3 separate regions of the Homo sapiens genome follow, and regions 2 and 3 are each linked to region 1. Evidence: promoter capture Hi-C in human tissues and cell types (Jung and others, 2019). All regions are on one chromosome and are shown on one strand. The core of a region is centred on a gene start or on the middle of the fragment in contact, and the rest is flanking DNA. Distances in the headings are between cores, read along the strand shown.

What was found. Contacts are between HindIII fragments. The study calls those that stand out against the background at their distance.
Region 2: a contact is called between a fragment that was not itself captured here and the fragment with the promoter of GALNT18 in region 1, in 3 of the 25 tissues and cell types used here (aorta, liver and pancreas).
Region 3: a contact is called between a fragment that was not itself captured here and the fragment with the promoter of GALNT18 in region 1, in 6 of the 25 tissues and cell types used here (H1 embryonic stem cells, IMR-90 fibroblasts, bladder and 3 more).

The regions. Positions count from the first base shown.
Region 1 is chr11:11,620,577-11,624,090 of GRCh38, reverse strand. It overlaps GALNT18 (polypeptide N-acetylgalactosaminyltransferase 18), which reads left to right and starts at 2,086. Exons shown (of 11, transcript NM_198516.3): 1 at 2,086-2,732. The coding sequence starts at 2,498. RefSeq lists silencers at 1,784-2,143, 2,894-2,973, 2,994-3,063 and enhancers at 1,646-2,146, 2,264-2,343, 2,554-2,603, 3,344-3,514, 3,236-3,514. The HindIII fragment of the contact is 13,654 bases long and covers 1-3,514 here.
Region 2 is chr11:11,524,853-11,528,260 of GRCh38, reverse strand. The region is part of intron 1 of GALNT18 (polypeptide N-acetylgalactosaminyltransferase 18); the gene reads left to right. Among named protein-coding and RNA genes, the nearest start is that of GALNT18-AS1, 43 kb to the left of the region's middle. The HindIII fragment of the contact is 9,133 bases long and covers 1-3,408 here.
Region 3 is chr11:11,508,744-11,511,844 of GRCh38, reverse strand. All of the region lies in intron 1 of GALNT18 (polypeptide N-acetylgalactosaminyltransferase 18), which reads left to right. Among named protein-coding and RNA genes, the nearest start is that of GALNT18-AS1, 60 kb to the left of the region's middle. RefSeq lists an enhancer at 2,009-2,510. The HindIII fragment of the contact is 4,338 bases long and covers 1-3,101 here.

The DNA.
Region 1 (3,514 bases), core at 837-3,336:
GTGTCCAGGCTCTCATAACTAATACATGGTGGATCTGGGATTAGAACCCTGGAGTCTGCCTGCACCTCCAGAGAAAATTCTTTGAACAGGTCAACTCAAACCTGTGACTTTTCAGAGAGGAGAACCTGTTCAGCATTCTTCTTTTGTTGTATTCATCCCCTCTACAGTTACACATTATCTTAGAGGATCAGCTGTACAAAATTTAAGATCACACAATTCACTTTGTTTTCTTCTTGACCCTCATTTTTTTAAACTTGGGATTTAATTTTTTTCCATTAAGAATGTGAAAAGAATGAGTATTGCCTTCTCTTTCTAGTCCTGTGGTGGTTTAGGAAGATCCCAAGAAGGGCTGAACTTCCAGGGCTCCTCCTGGGAGAGGGGGCAGAACAGAAGGAAAGATTACACCTTAGCCTGTACTCAAGGGCATTGCTTGTAAGTCTGTCCAACCAGAAGAAAGTTCAGATCCTTTATTTGTGAGCTGGATTATACCTCTGGAAGAGAAAAAAGGGAGAGACAAGTTTTACTCCCTCCTGGAGGCAGATTTCTCTACCTTGATTTTTTCAGAAATTGTGTACATTCTCTCCTCTCATGTATGTATCTCCTACATACCATACACACGATTCTTCTCCCCCTTCTATACCCCAGCCCACGCCAACCCACACCCACTGTTCTCTCTTCCAGCTATGGATCAAGGGAAATCTTCCCGGGTCCCTAGTTGGTATCTGTTTTCATAGCATCTTTGGGGAGGTTTTGTAAACAAAGCATTGGTAGAAGGGCCCTTGGCTGATGGGGCCATAAAGTGCCCTTTCTTTGGTTTTGTGCTCTCCCTCTCTTGTGGGGCCAGTCATTTGAATCCAGAAGATATCCCAGGATGGAGCTGCCCTGAGTATTTCTGTGGCTGGTTGGAAGGCTGGCACACAACAAAGTGGGCATGCAGCAGGCTGCCTCCCTGGCTTAGGCCAAAAAAATAAAGCAACTCAGAGATGGAGAAGAGGCAGGAAATCTATGTTGTAAAAAGTCTTTGTTTAAAGGAATTCCGTTCAGGTGCTGAGAACGGGGTGTTCAGCAGAAGAGGATAATATGAGTAAACATTGGCAGTAAGAACAAACACAGCAGTATCACTGTCTGCGTCTGGCCTCCTCCTGTGCTCAGTCACAGGTCTCTCCCACCGCCCTCTATGATAGCAATCATAAACAACATGTAGAAGGGCTTTACAGTTCACAGACCTCAGTTCCCCTCAGCGGCACTTCCTTGCAGGGTTTCTTTATGCACTGGATGACCCTGGTTCCACATAAATGAAAACTGGGCTTAAAGGACACATCCATGTCCTGGGAGCTGTACAGACTTAAAGAAAAACCTAGATAGGGGCAAAAATTGGGGCAGGCGGTGGGGGTGGGGGGTGGGGGGTGGGGGGGGGGAAGAAGTGGTCGAGAGAGTCATCTAATAGGTCACCAATGTTGCTTCTGGGAGGTTGCCGGAGGGTTGGCTCCTTTCAGCCAGGTTTAGGGCCAGGTCTGGACACACTCAGGAGGCCGGTGGCTGAAGGGCAGAGGGCAGGGTGGAGGCCCAAGTGAGGCCAAGGAAGGAGTGGATGCCGCTGGGGCTGGCACTTCCTTGGCTTCTCAGCGTCCTGGCAACCAAGAAAAGATTCCAGGAGTCGACTGGTGGCACCAATGCGAGAAGCCCCGGGCGGATGAAAGAAGCTGACCCGTGCGAACCCCCCACCCCCTCCACAAAACCAGGAGATTCCTGCCCAAGAGCAAGAGATGGAATTCCCCTAACGGAGGAAGCTGCCGACCTAAGGGCTGGGACTGGCAGCGCGCCCTCTCCGGGAGCTTCAGGTCTGGGGCAGCCTGTGCAGGCGCGGGTGGAGGCCCGGGCGCGTCCCTGGGGGCGGGAGCCAGGGGCGGCCAGCAGGTGGGGCCTGGGAGCTGGACTCCGCCCCCCGCTCCCTCCCCGTTGGTCCGCTGCCGCTCAGCACCGGCCCCTCTCCCGAGCCGGAGCGCGATTGGTGGCAGCGCTTGTCGCTCGGAGGGGGCCGGGCCGCTCTGCTTCGCGGCTCTCCCCGCCGCCGCTGCCGCTGCCGCTGTTCTCCTAGCAGCGCGGGCCGGTCGGACCGCCAAGGCAGCCGGCGCTGGCGATGGGAAGCGGCGTGGCCGCCGACACAGGCAGTGGCAAAGTTTCCCAGACGTACACATCTGGACGCGCGGCTGCCGGCTACCCGTGACCCCTCTAGGAAGGGTTCAGGGATTTTTAATTTGGAAAAAAATCCACCTGGTTTCCTTTGTCAAGGTCTCTCCGGGTGGCCAGCGGCAGGAGCTGCAAACTTGGGCACGGCGGCTACACCGGCAGCGGACCGGGCTTTGGAGAACCTCGGGACTCAGGTGCTGAGGTGCCCAGCGGCTCCGGACGTGCTACGGGGTGCGAGCGCGGGGGAGTTCGGGGCGCACGACAAGGAAGGGCCCCCGGGAGCTCTATATGGAGGAAGGAGCCCAGAATGGTGTGCACCAGGAAGACCAAAACTTTGGTGTCCACTTGCGTGATCCTGAGCGGCATGACTAACATCATCTGCCTGCTCTACGTGGGCTGGGTCACCAACTACATCGCCAGCGTGTATGTGCGGGGGCAGGAGCCGGCGCCCGACAAGAAGCTGGAGGAAGACAAAGGGGACACTCTGAAGATTATTGAGCGGCTGGACCACCTGGAGAATGTCATCAAGCAGCACATTCAAGGTACGGGCGCCCCGGAAACTTGGGTCGCCCATGAGGCCCGGGAGTGCCCCGCGCGGCGCGGGGTGCGCTGGGGCTGGTGCGCATCAACTCAGCCACGGCGGGGCTCTGGGGCCGCAGATGCGTGGTAGTCGTGGGGCCTGCGTGTGAGCTCCTGCCTGCGTTCGGGACCTTCTGTCTGCGGCCGTGCGCTCTTCCCCGGGGCACACGTGTGTGCGCAGGGCTGCACGAGCGGATGTGTGCAGCTAGCTGGCGGTATGGGGGCGCGCTGCGCACGTGTCCAAATGTGCGTGTGACTCTGGGCTGGTTGCTCGCGGGCTCTCGGGATCGCACACAAGTCCGGCTCAGAGTGTGTGTGCATGTGAATGTCTGTGTGTGTACAAGAGGGAACGCGCGGGCAAACGAGCTTTTTTGGCCACTGTAGGCGTCAGGCGAGATGCCCGCGCGGCGGCCCTGACTATTGGCAGTTAAGACCCGCAGGCTGCCGGACAAGCGAGGCTAGGAAAATTGCGTTGTATCAGCCCCAGCCCCAGTCTTGCTGTGATCCCGTTGGTAGGCGATAGGGAATGCAAGGAGCCCTCTGTGGTTGAAAAGCCGCTTGAACCTATAGCAGTCCCTACCCCCACCACAGCCCGCGGGTCCAGGACCCTCTCCAGGAGCAGGTGTCAACGCCGGGAAGTAGCGCTGGAGTCTCTGTCCACTGTGGTGATGACTCCGCCCAAGACTGGAAGAACACGCCCTGGGCTGCGCCTTCCCCGCGGAGCCGCCCGGGACCGGGTGAAGGC
Region 2 (3,408 bases), core at 425-2,924, 95 kb after region 1:
TTAGCCTTCCTAGTCTATACGTTTCCACAAACACACAATATTATTCTGCATTTCCATGCCTTTATCCATGTCATTCAGTTTGCTTGGGTGGCCTTCCTCTTTTGAACTCCTGAATAATTTCCAATTATCCTCTAAGACTCTATTCATATGTCACCTACTCTCTGCTGTCTTTCCGTAACATTCTCTAGGACTCAGTTTCCTCCTTTGTAAAATGGGGGTAATCACAGCACCTATGTGATGGAGTTGTTATGAGTATTAAATAAGATAACCCATGCTAAGTGCTTAGCACAGTATCTGGTATATCAGAAATGCTCAGCAAATATCCAGCTGCCAGCCTGCCTGGCATCTAGAGGTATTGGTGGTTTGGGCAGTGGCAGGGCCTCTGCTGTTTGTCTCCTGCTAGGGTGCCTGAGTTTAACAGTCTCTTACTATTCACAGTTTAAGAAAATAGAGAATAATTGATGTCCATCAGGCAATGAATAGAAAACAGCTCATTGCAGATGCCTGGCTTTGATGGGCTCTTCAAGACTGAGGGGAGGAATTTGTTATGCCCAGAGAGCTCTGTTCTAGAAAGCAGAACATGGAAAATAAAATCTGGCTTTATAAATACATTTAGACTTAGGGTTTTAAAAATGTATAATATATATTTAATCTTGAAGAATTTTAAATATTTCATGGGCCATTGCTCATGGCTTGGTACCTCTAATTGGTGAACCTTGGTGGCAGAGACACTGCTTTGTGGCATCTGTTTACAGTTCTGTAGAATAAAGCTCATGTGGACATTTACTTAGGAAAAATCTGTGAATTGCAGAACCACGTAAGAATAATAATTATTGTCCCTGTTTTGTACCGGAATGAGCTGACTGCATCAGCCCAGAGACTCGAAAGGCAAACAAGTATCTGCAGGGGTAAAAAGAAACACCCCAATCCAACAGCAGACCATGGGGACATTTGATCAAAAAAGTGTCTTAGATAGTGAAACATAGGTTCTGTGCCAGATTTTCTTCATGCAGAGAAAAGCTACTGTAGAAGCAGAAGCAGATGCTGCTCGTCTCCATCCTTAGTGCAGAGTTGGCAGGGGACAGGGGTTGGGGGGTGCCTTCAAGACAATGAAGACTTTTGGAAGGATCACTATGCAGGGAGTACAGACCTAGACAGGAAACATTCCTGGCCAGGAATGCCAAGGTCATTGGCAATCTGGTGTCAAGGCCTGGAGAAATGCATTTATAAATGAGAAAGCATCTTCCCTGTGTCGGGCTCCTTCAAGAGAGGGTACCCACATCAGATGATAATTGTCATAGTCTAGGTGCAAGACTCCCACAGACATTGAGGAACCTGTCCATCTTAGAGTGTGGCGTGGACTCGACTGGATTGCTGTTCACTGACAGCTGCTGTGCTCCTGCGGGAGAGTAATATTCCCCACTTTCCCTGGATTTCACACTTGGCCATGTGACTTATTTTGGCTAAATAAATGTGAGCAGAAGTGACATGTCACTTTCAGGTGGAAAATTTAAGAGCCAATATATGCTCAATGGTCAATGGTACAGGTATTCTAGCAGCTCTTTTCCCAATGTAAGGGTGACAATGATGACACAGGAGCAGAGATCCTAGGTGATCCTGATGGACGTGTAGCCTGAGATGTAGCCTTTGTGATATAAGCTACCGGTATTTGGGGTGTTTTTGTTACTGCAATATAACCAGCTCTCCCCTGACAAATACACTATATTTTTAAAAGAAATATATTTTTAAAAGAAAGAATGATGTATTTATTACTTCCATGAATAACTACATATGTTCTGGTTTTTATAGCAGAAAGACAATGAAAGAAGTAACTATACATGCCAGAAAGGGACCAGCGCTGCATTTTTAAAGGAACATCAAAGACTCCAGGAGTCTACTTGTAAGAGTCTATGAATTTATTCACAAAGTCGTGCTATTCTACCATCACACAAACAGTCTGTCACTCACAGAAATGTTTGATCCATGGCCGGGCCCATGGCTTGCGGGAAATTGTTACATGGAAAAGCCGATACTGGCTTCCCTCCCTCCACCCACATCTAACTTCCTGGTCTTCCCTGATGACATCCTGCCTTTATGGCTTTATACATCCCTGACTGCCTGCCTAAAATGCCATTGCTCTCTTTTCTTCCAACATCCTGTCCCTGAGAACGCCTAGCATACTTACAGCAAATGTCTACACTGCCTCTGGAGCCTTTCTCATACCTTTCCCCCACTCCAGGCAGATGGAAGTTTCTTCCGTGTCTTCCAATTGCCAACTGGTCACCCCCATTAGCATGTTGCAGTGACACCTCAAATGTGATATGCGTGGCCGGGCACGGTGGCTCATGAGTGTAATCCCAGCACTTTAGGAGACTGAGGCGGGCGGATCACCTGAGGTTGGGAGTTCGAGACCAGCCTGACCAACATGGAGAAACCCTGTCTCTACTAAAATTACAAAATTAGCTGGGCGTGGTGGCGGGCGCCTGTAATCCCAGCTACTCGGGAGGCTGAGGCAGGAGAATTGCTTGAACCCAGCAGGTGGAGGTTGTGGTGAGCTGAGATAGTGTCATTGAACTTCAGCCTGGGCAACAAAAGCGAAACTCCATCTCAAAAAAAAAAAAAAAAAAAGTAATATGCACAACACCAGATCATCAGCTTTCTTCAAACCTGTTCCCCTTCCTACCTCCTCCATATCCACAACTGACTCCATTCTCCATTTAGATAAAATCAGTAGCCCTGTATTCTGTGTATTACTCATTCTTCCCTGTCTCAACCTCATCCAATCAAGTCTTACCGATTTCGCCACTGAAATGTTTCGTGAACTTTTTTGCTTTTACTATCGCTGTTTCAGATAAGGACCTTATCATCTGGCACTGGTTTTCATCTAACAGTCTTTCTTATTCATTGAGCTCCCTGCTTCTCATTCACCTCCATTCTACCACTTCTAGGGTAATATTTCTATTACCCTAGAAGGTAAGGATCCAGTGGAAACTTTCAGTCATTCGCGTTTCCTTGAGAGTGATGTTTAAATTGCTAGGATGGCATTCTGGGCCTTTCGAAATCTCCTCCATTTCGTTGTTTTTCCTACCTCTCCTCCTCCCCACCCTGTCTATATTCCGGCAACACCAGAATGTATTCATGCATATATATGTATTTTTTTTCTTGCACCTCTCTGAATTTGTATATTGGTTTTTCTGCATGAAATCCCCTCCTTTCTCTTCAACCTTCTCTGATAACCCTGGACTTAGTCTTCAAGATCCAGTCTGAGTTTTGCATCCTCTGGGAGCCTCCTGGAAACCCCAGACAGAATCTCTCTCTCCTTTCCTATTGCTTCTCAGAGCTTGTGTTTATGCTTCCCTTAAAACACTTCCACTCTCTGCCAGCTATGATTCAAGAATGACACAGACA
Region 3 (3,101 bases), core at 56-2,555, 110 kb after region 1:
CCAGTGTGGTCCGGGTCTGGTGAGGGCCCTCTTCTGGGTTGTTTACTGCCAACTTCTCATTGTATCCTCACATGGCAAAAAGAGACTGGGAGAGCTCTCTGGCCTCTTCTTAGAAGGGCACCAATATACCATTGATGAGGGCTCCACCCTTATGATCCAATCACCTCCCAAAGGCCCTACCTTCAAACATCATCACACTGGGGATTAGGTTCCAACCTATCAATTTTAGTGGAAACAGAAGCTTTCATTCCATAACACAGTGTGCACATGTATGCATTTTCTGGAGAGATAGTCCAAGCCTTTTCTCAGATTTTCTGAGGGGTGAGTGGCTCAGAAGTAAAGAACCACTGCATTAGCCAGGTCTCCTCAGGATTGTCTGGGGCCTATTCTGGGGATCACATGTATGGGGTCGCTCTGTTAGCTGTAGGGGACTGGCTAGGTCATGCTTCAGCCTTGGCTGCGGGGACACAGCAACCTTGAGCTGTAGCTCTTTGCAGACCAGTGTGTAAGGTCTGAGACCAGGGCCTGGTGGCAGTAATTAGCTTCAAGGAGCCCTCCCTGCGTGAAGCTGGACAGCCGGTCCCTTCAGTCTTCAGCAGATTCTTTGGCTGGGATTCCATGATTCAGCTCCTGAATGCAGCCCTTGAATACTTCAATGCCATTATTCACAGCGAGAAACCTCATTCAGTCCAAAAGGAGGGGCAGCCTGTTTTTACAACCCCCGGGAGAGAAGGCCTTCAGCTGCAGCCTGGCCCTCTCTTGCATCACCTGGCAGGCTGCATGTCTTTGTCAGGAGTCAAGTGGAAGGCGGTACCAGCTGCACGCCCCGCCGAGAGGAAAGAGTGCCGGTTGTGTCTGTCCGGGCACCATCCTCATGTTAGAGCTACAGAGAGGCATGTAGAGGTGGTACACAGAAGTCTGGGTCAGGAAGGCCTGCAGCCTGAAAGCCTGAGGATGGAGCTCAGCGAATGCATATATAGGGCTGAGCTCTGGGACTGTCCACTATCACAGAAGCCTGGCTTTGAAATGATGTTGCAATGTGCCCAGCCCTGAGATTTGCCCTGGAGTCACAGAGATCCCATTTTCTAGAGAAGATCACAGCCTAGAAGAAAAGATAGATGGGCCAACAGGTCACACAAGGTGGTGTGAAAAGTGGCACAGTAGCTGGATAACTCCTTAAAGGCAGGCACCTTCATTTCTATTTCTTGCACTGAGCCCCAGGTTAGACCCAGGAAATGCATCTCTGGAAGGCAGCTATGCTCACCACTATACCACCAATGCAGGGAATGCATCTCTAAAGGCATGAGTGCCTTGCATATAGTTTGTGTTCTAAGGGACTTTCTGCATGCCCAGTGCCTGGTACAAGGCCTGGAAATGAGCTGTACTCATGGAAGGTTTGCAGAAGTGACCTGAATAGAGGTTGGAACATGGTGAGGCCTTATCACAGAGACGACCCAGGGTAGGGAGCTTTACCTGGTTTCATATTTAATGCTTCTGACCTGCCCTTCTCACAGGGCCCCTGGGAGAGTATACTGAGACAGCAGATGTTAAAATAGTTTGTGTACTTTAGTGCCAGGCAAAATATGGGCTCCCATTAAAGGTGGTTTTCCTATTGTGAGGCTTTCCACACCCTTCATGTCACATTGCCTTGTGTGAATCTTGGGTGCTTCAGATCCATCAGCGTGGTCTCTGTGACTTGGTGGTAATGCTCCTTTTGGGCTGCAGCTGAGTCTTCCCTTGTGTTGAGTTTTCCATGCTGTGGCCAGCATCTGCATGTAGTTGGTACTCACTGGGCCATAGTGAAGTGTCTGGAGTGTTCTGATGCTGTAACCAGGGACCTTGGGTGCTCTGCTGGAAGGTCCTGCCCTCAGAAGGCTTCTCAGAGGATGTGACCACCGATGCTGTGTCTTATACAAATACTCTTTCTGCGTGGTGCTGGGAGTGACCCCAGATATAGCCAAAGAAGGGAGATTGCTCTCCAATTGTCACCATGAACAGGATCTTTCAGTTTCCCACAGAGGATGGAGTAGCGCATGTGTTAATCACAGGGCAGTGAAGGTCTTGAATTCAGATATGCCAGCATGTGGCCAAAGGCCTGTGGCCAGTCCTCTGCTCTCTGCCAGTGGCTAGGCACAAAGGGCTGAGGCCTCTATTTATTTCTGATGAGATGTGCTGAGGGAGAAATGACTGGAGGCATGGAGAGGGGGGAAAGTCATTCCGTCTTCAAAGGAGCACAAACAATTGATGTGACTCCAAGCTTTCTCTCCATTGTTCAGTAACTACTTATTGAGCAGTTACCATGCATAGCACATGATGCTAGGCCTGGGGCTAGGGGAGAAATAACACCAATTCTGTTCTTAGAGTTTTCACCCAAGGCTAGATTAAGATGTATTGGGTCCTAAGAATCACAGTGCTCCCTTCCCCTCTTTCCTGAATGTAATGCAAAATAAAAATATATTAAATTATGAATATATAAAAACAATTCCAGCAGTTCTAATTGTTCCCATGATAACTACTTAAATGTTTAAAAAATCTTTCTTTGGATATCAAATTGTTTCAAAAATATTTTGGTATTAGAACTTCACTGATGTTCTGAAAACAAGCTCAGTGTGCCATTTAGATACCAAGGGCCCTAATTGTCACAGATTAAGAGAAGTCAGAAAAGGAGGAAGCTTTTTTTTTTCTTTTCTTTAGCAAACACTTGTGAAAGATGAGAATCAGGGCATTCAAGACAGAGGATTCAGAATGGGCAAGGGAAAAGCATGGGGGTGTAGAAGAAGAAGAGAAAAGTTCAGTTTGGTCCGAGAGGTAGGGAAGTCATGGGAGAGGGGTGGGAGCTGGGGCCAGATCTGGTTGAGCCTGAGTGCCAGATAAGGAGTTTGGGTTGTATCGGGTAGTTCTTGGGAGCCATCAAAGATTTCTGAGCCTCTCTTTGTTATTGTAAACCAATTTCCACATTCAGGATATTCAAAACCACCCTTGCATAGCATTTAAGAGTATCTACAGTGATGGAGTGAAGCTGGAGTAATTGAGTATTGGTAATTGCTTTCACTGTGCTTTGGTGGAATGCATTTTAGAAATGGAGTTCTATCCTGTAAGTG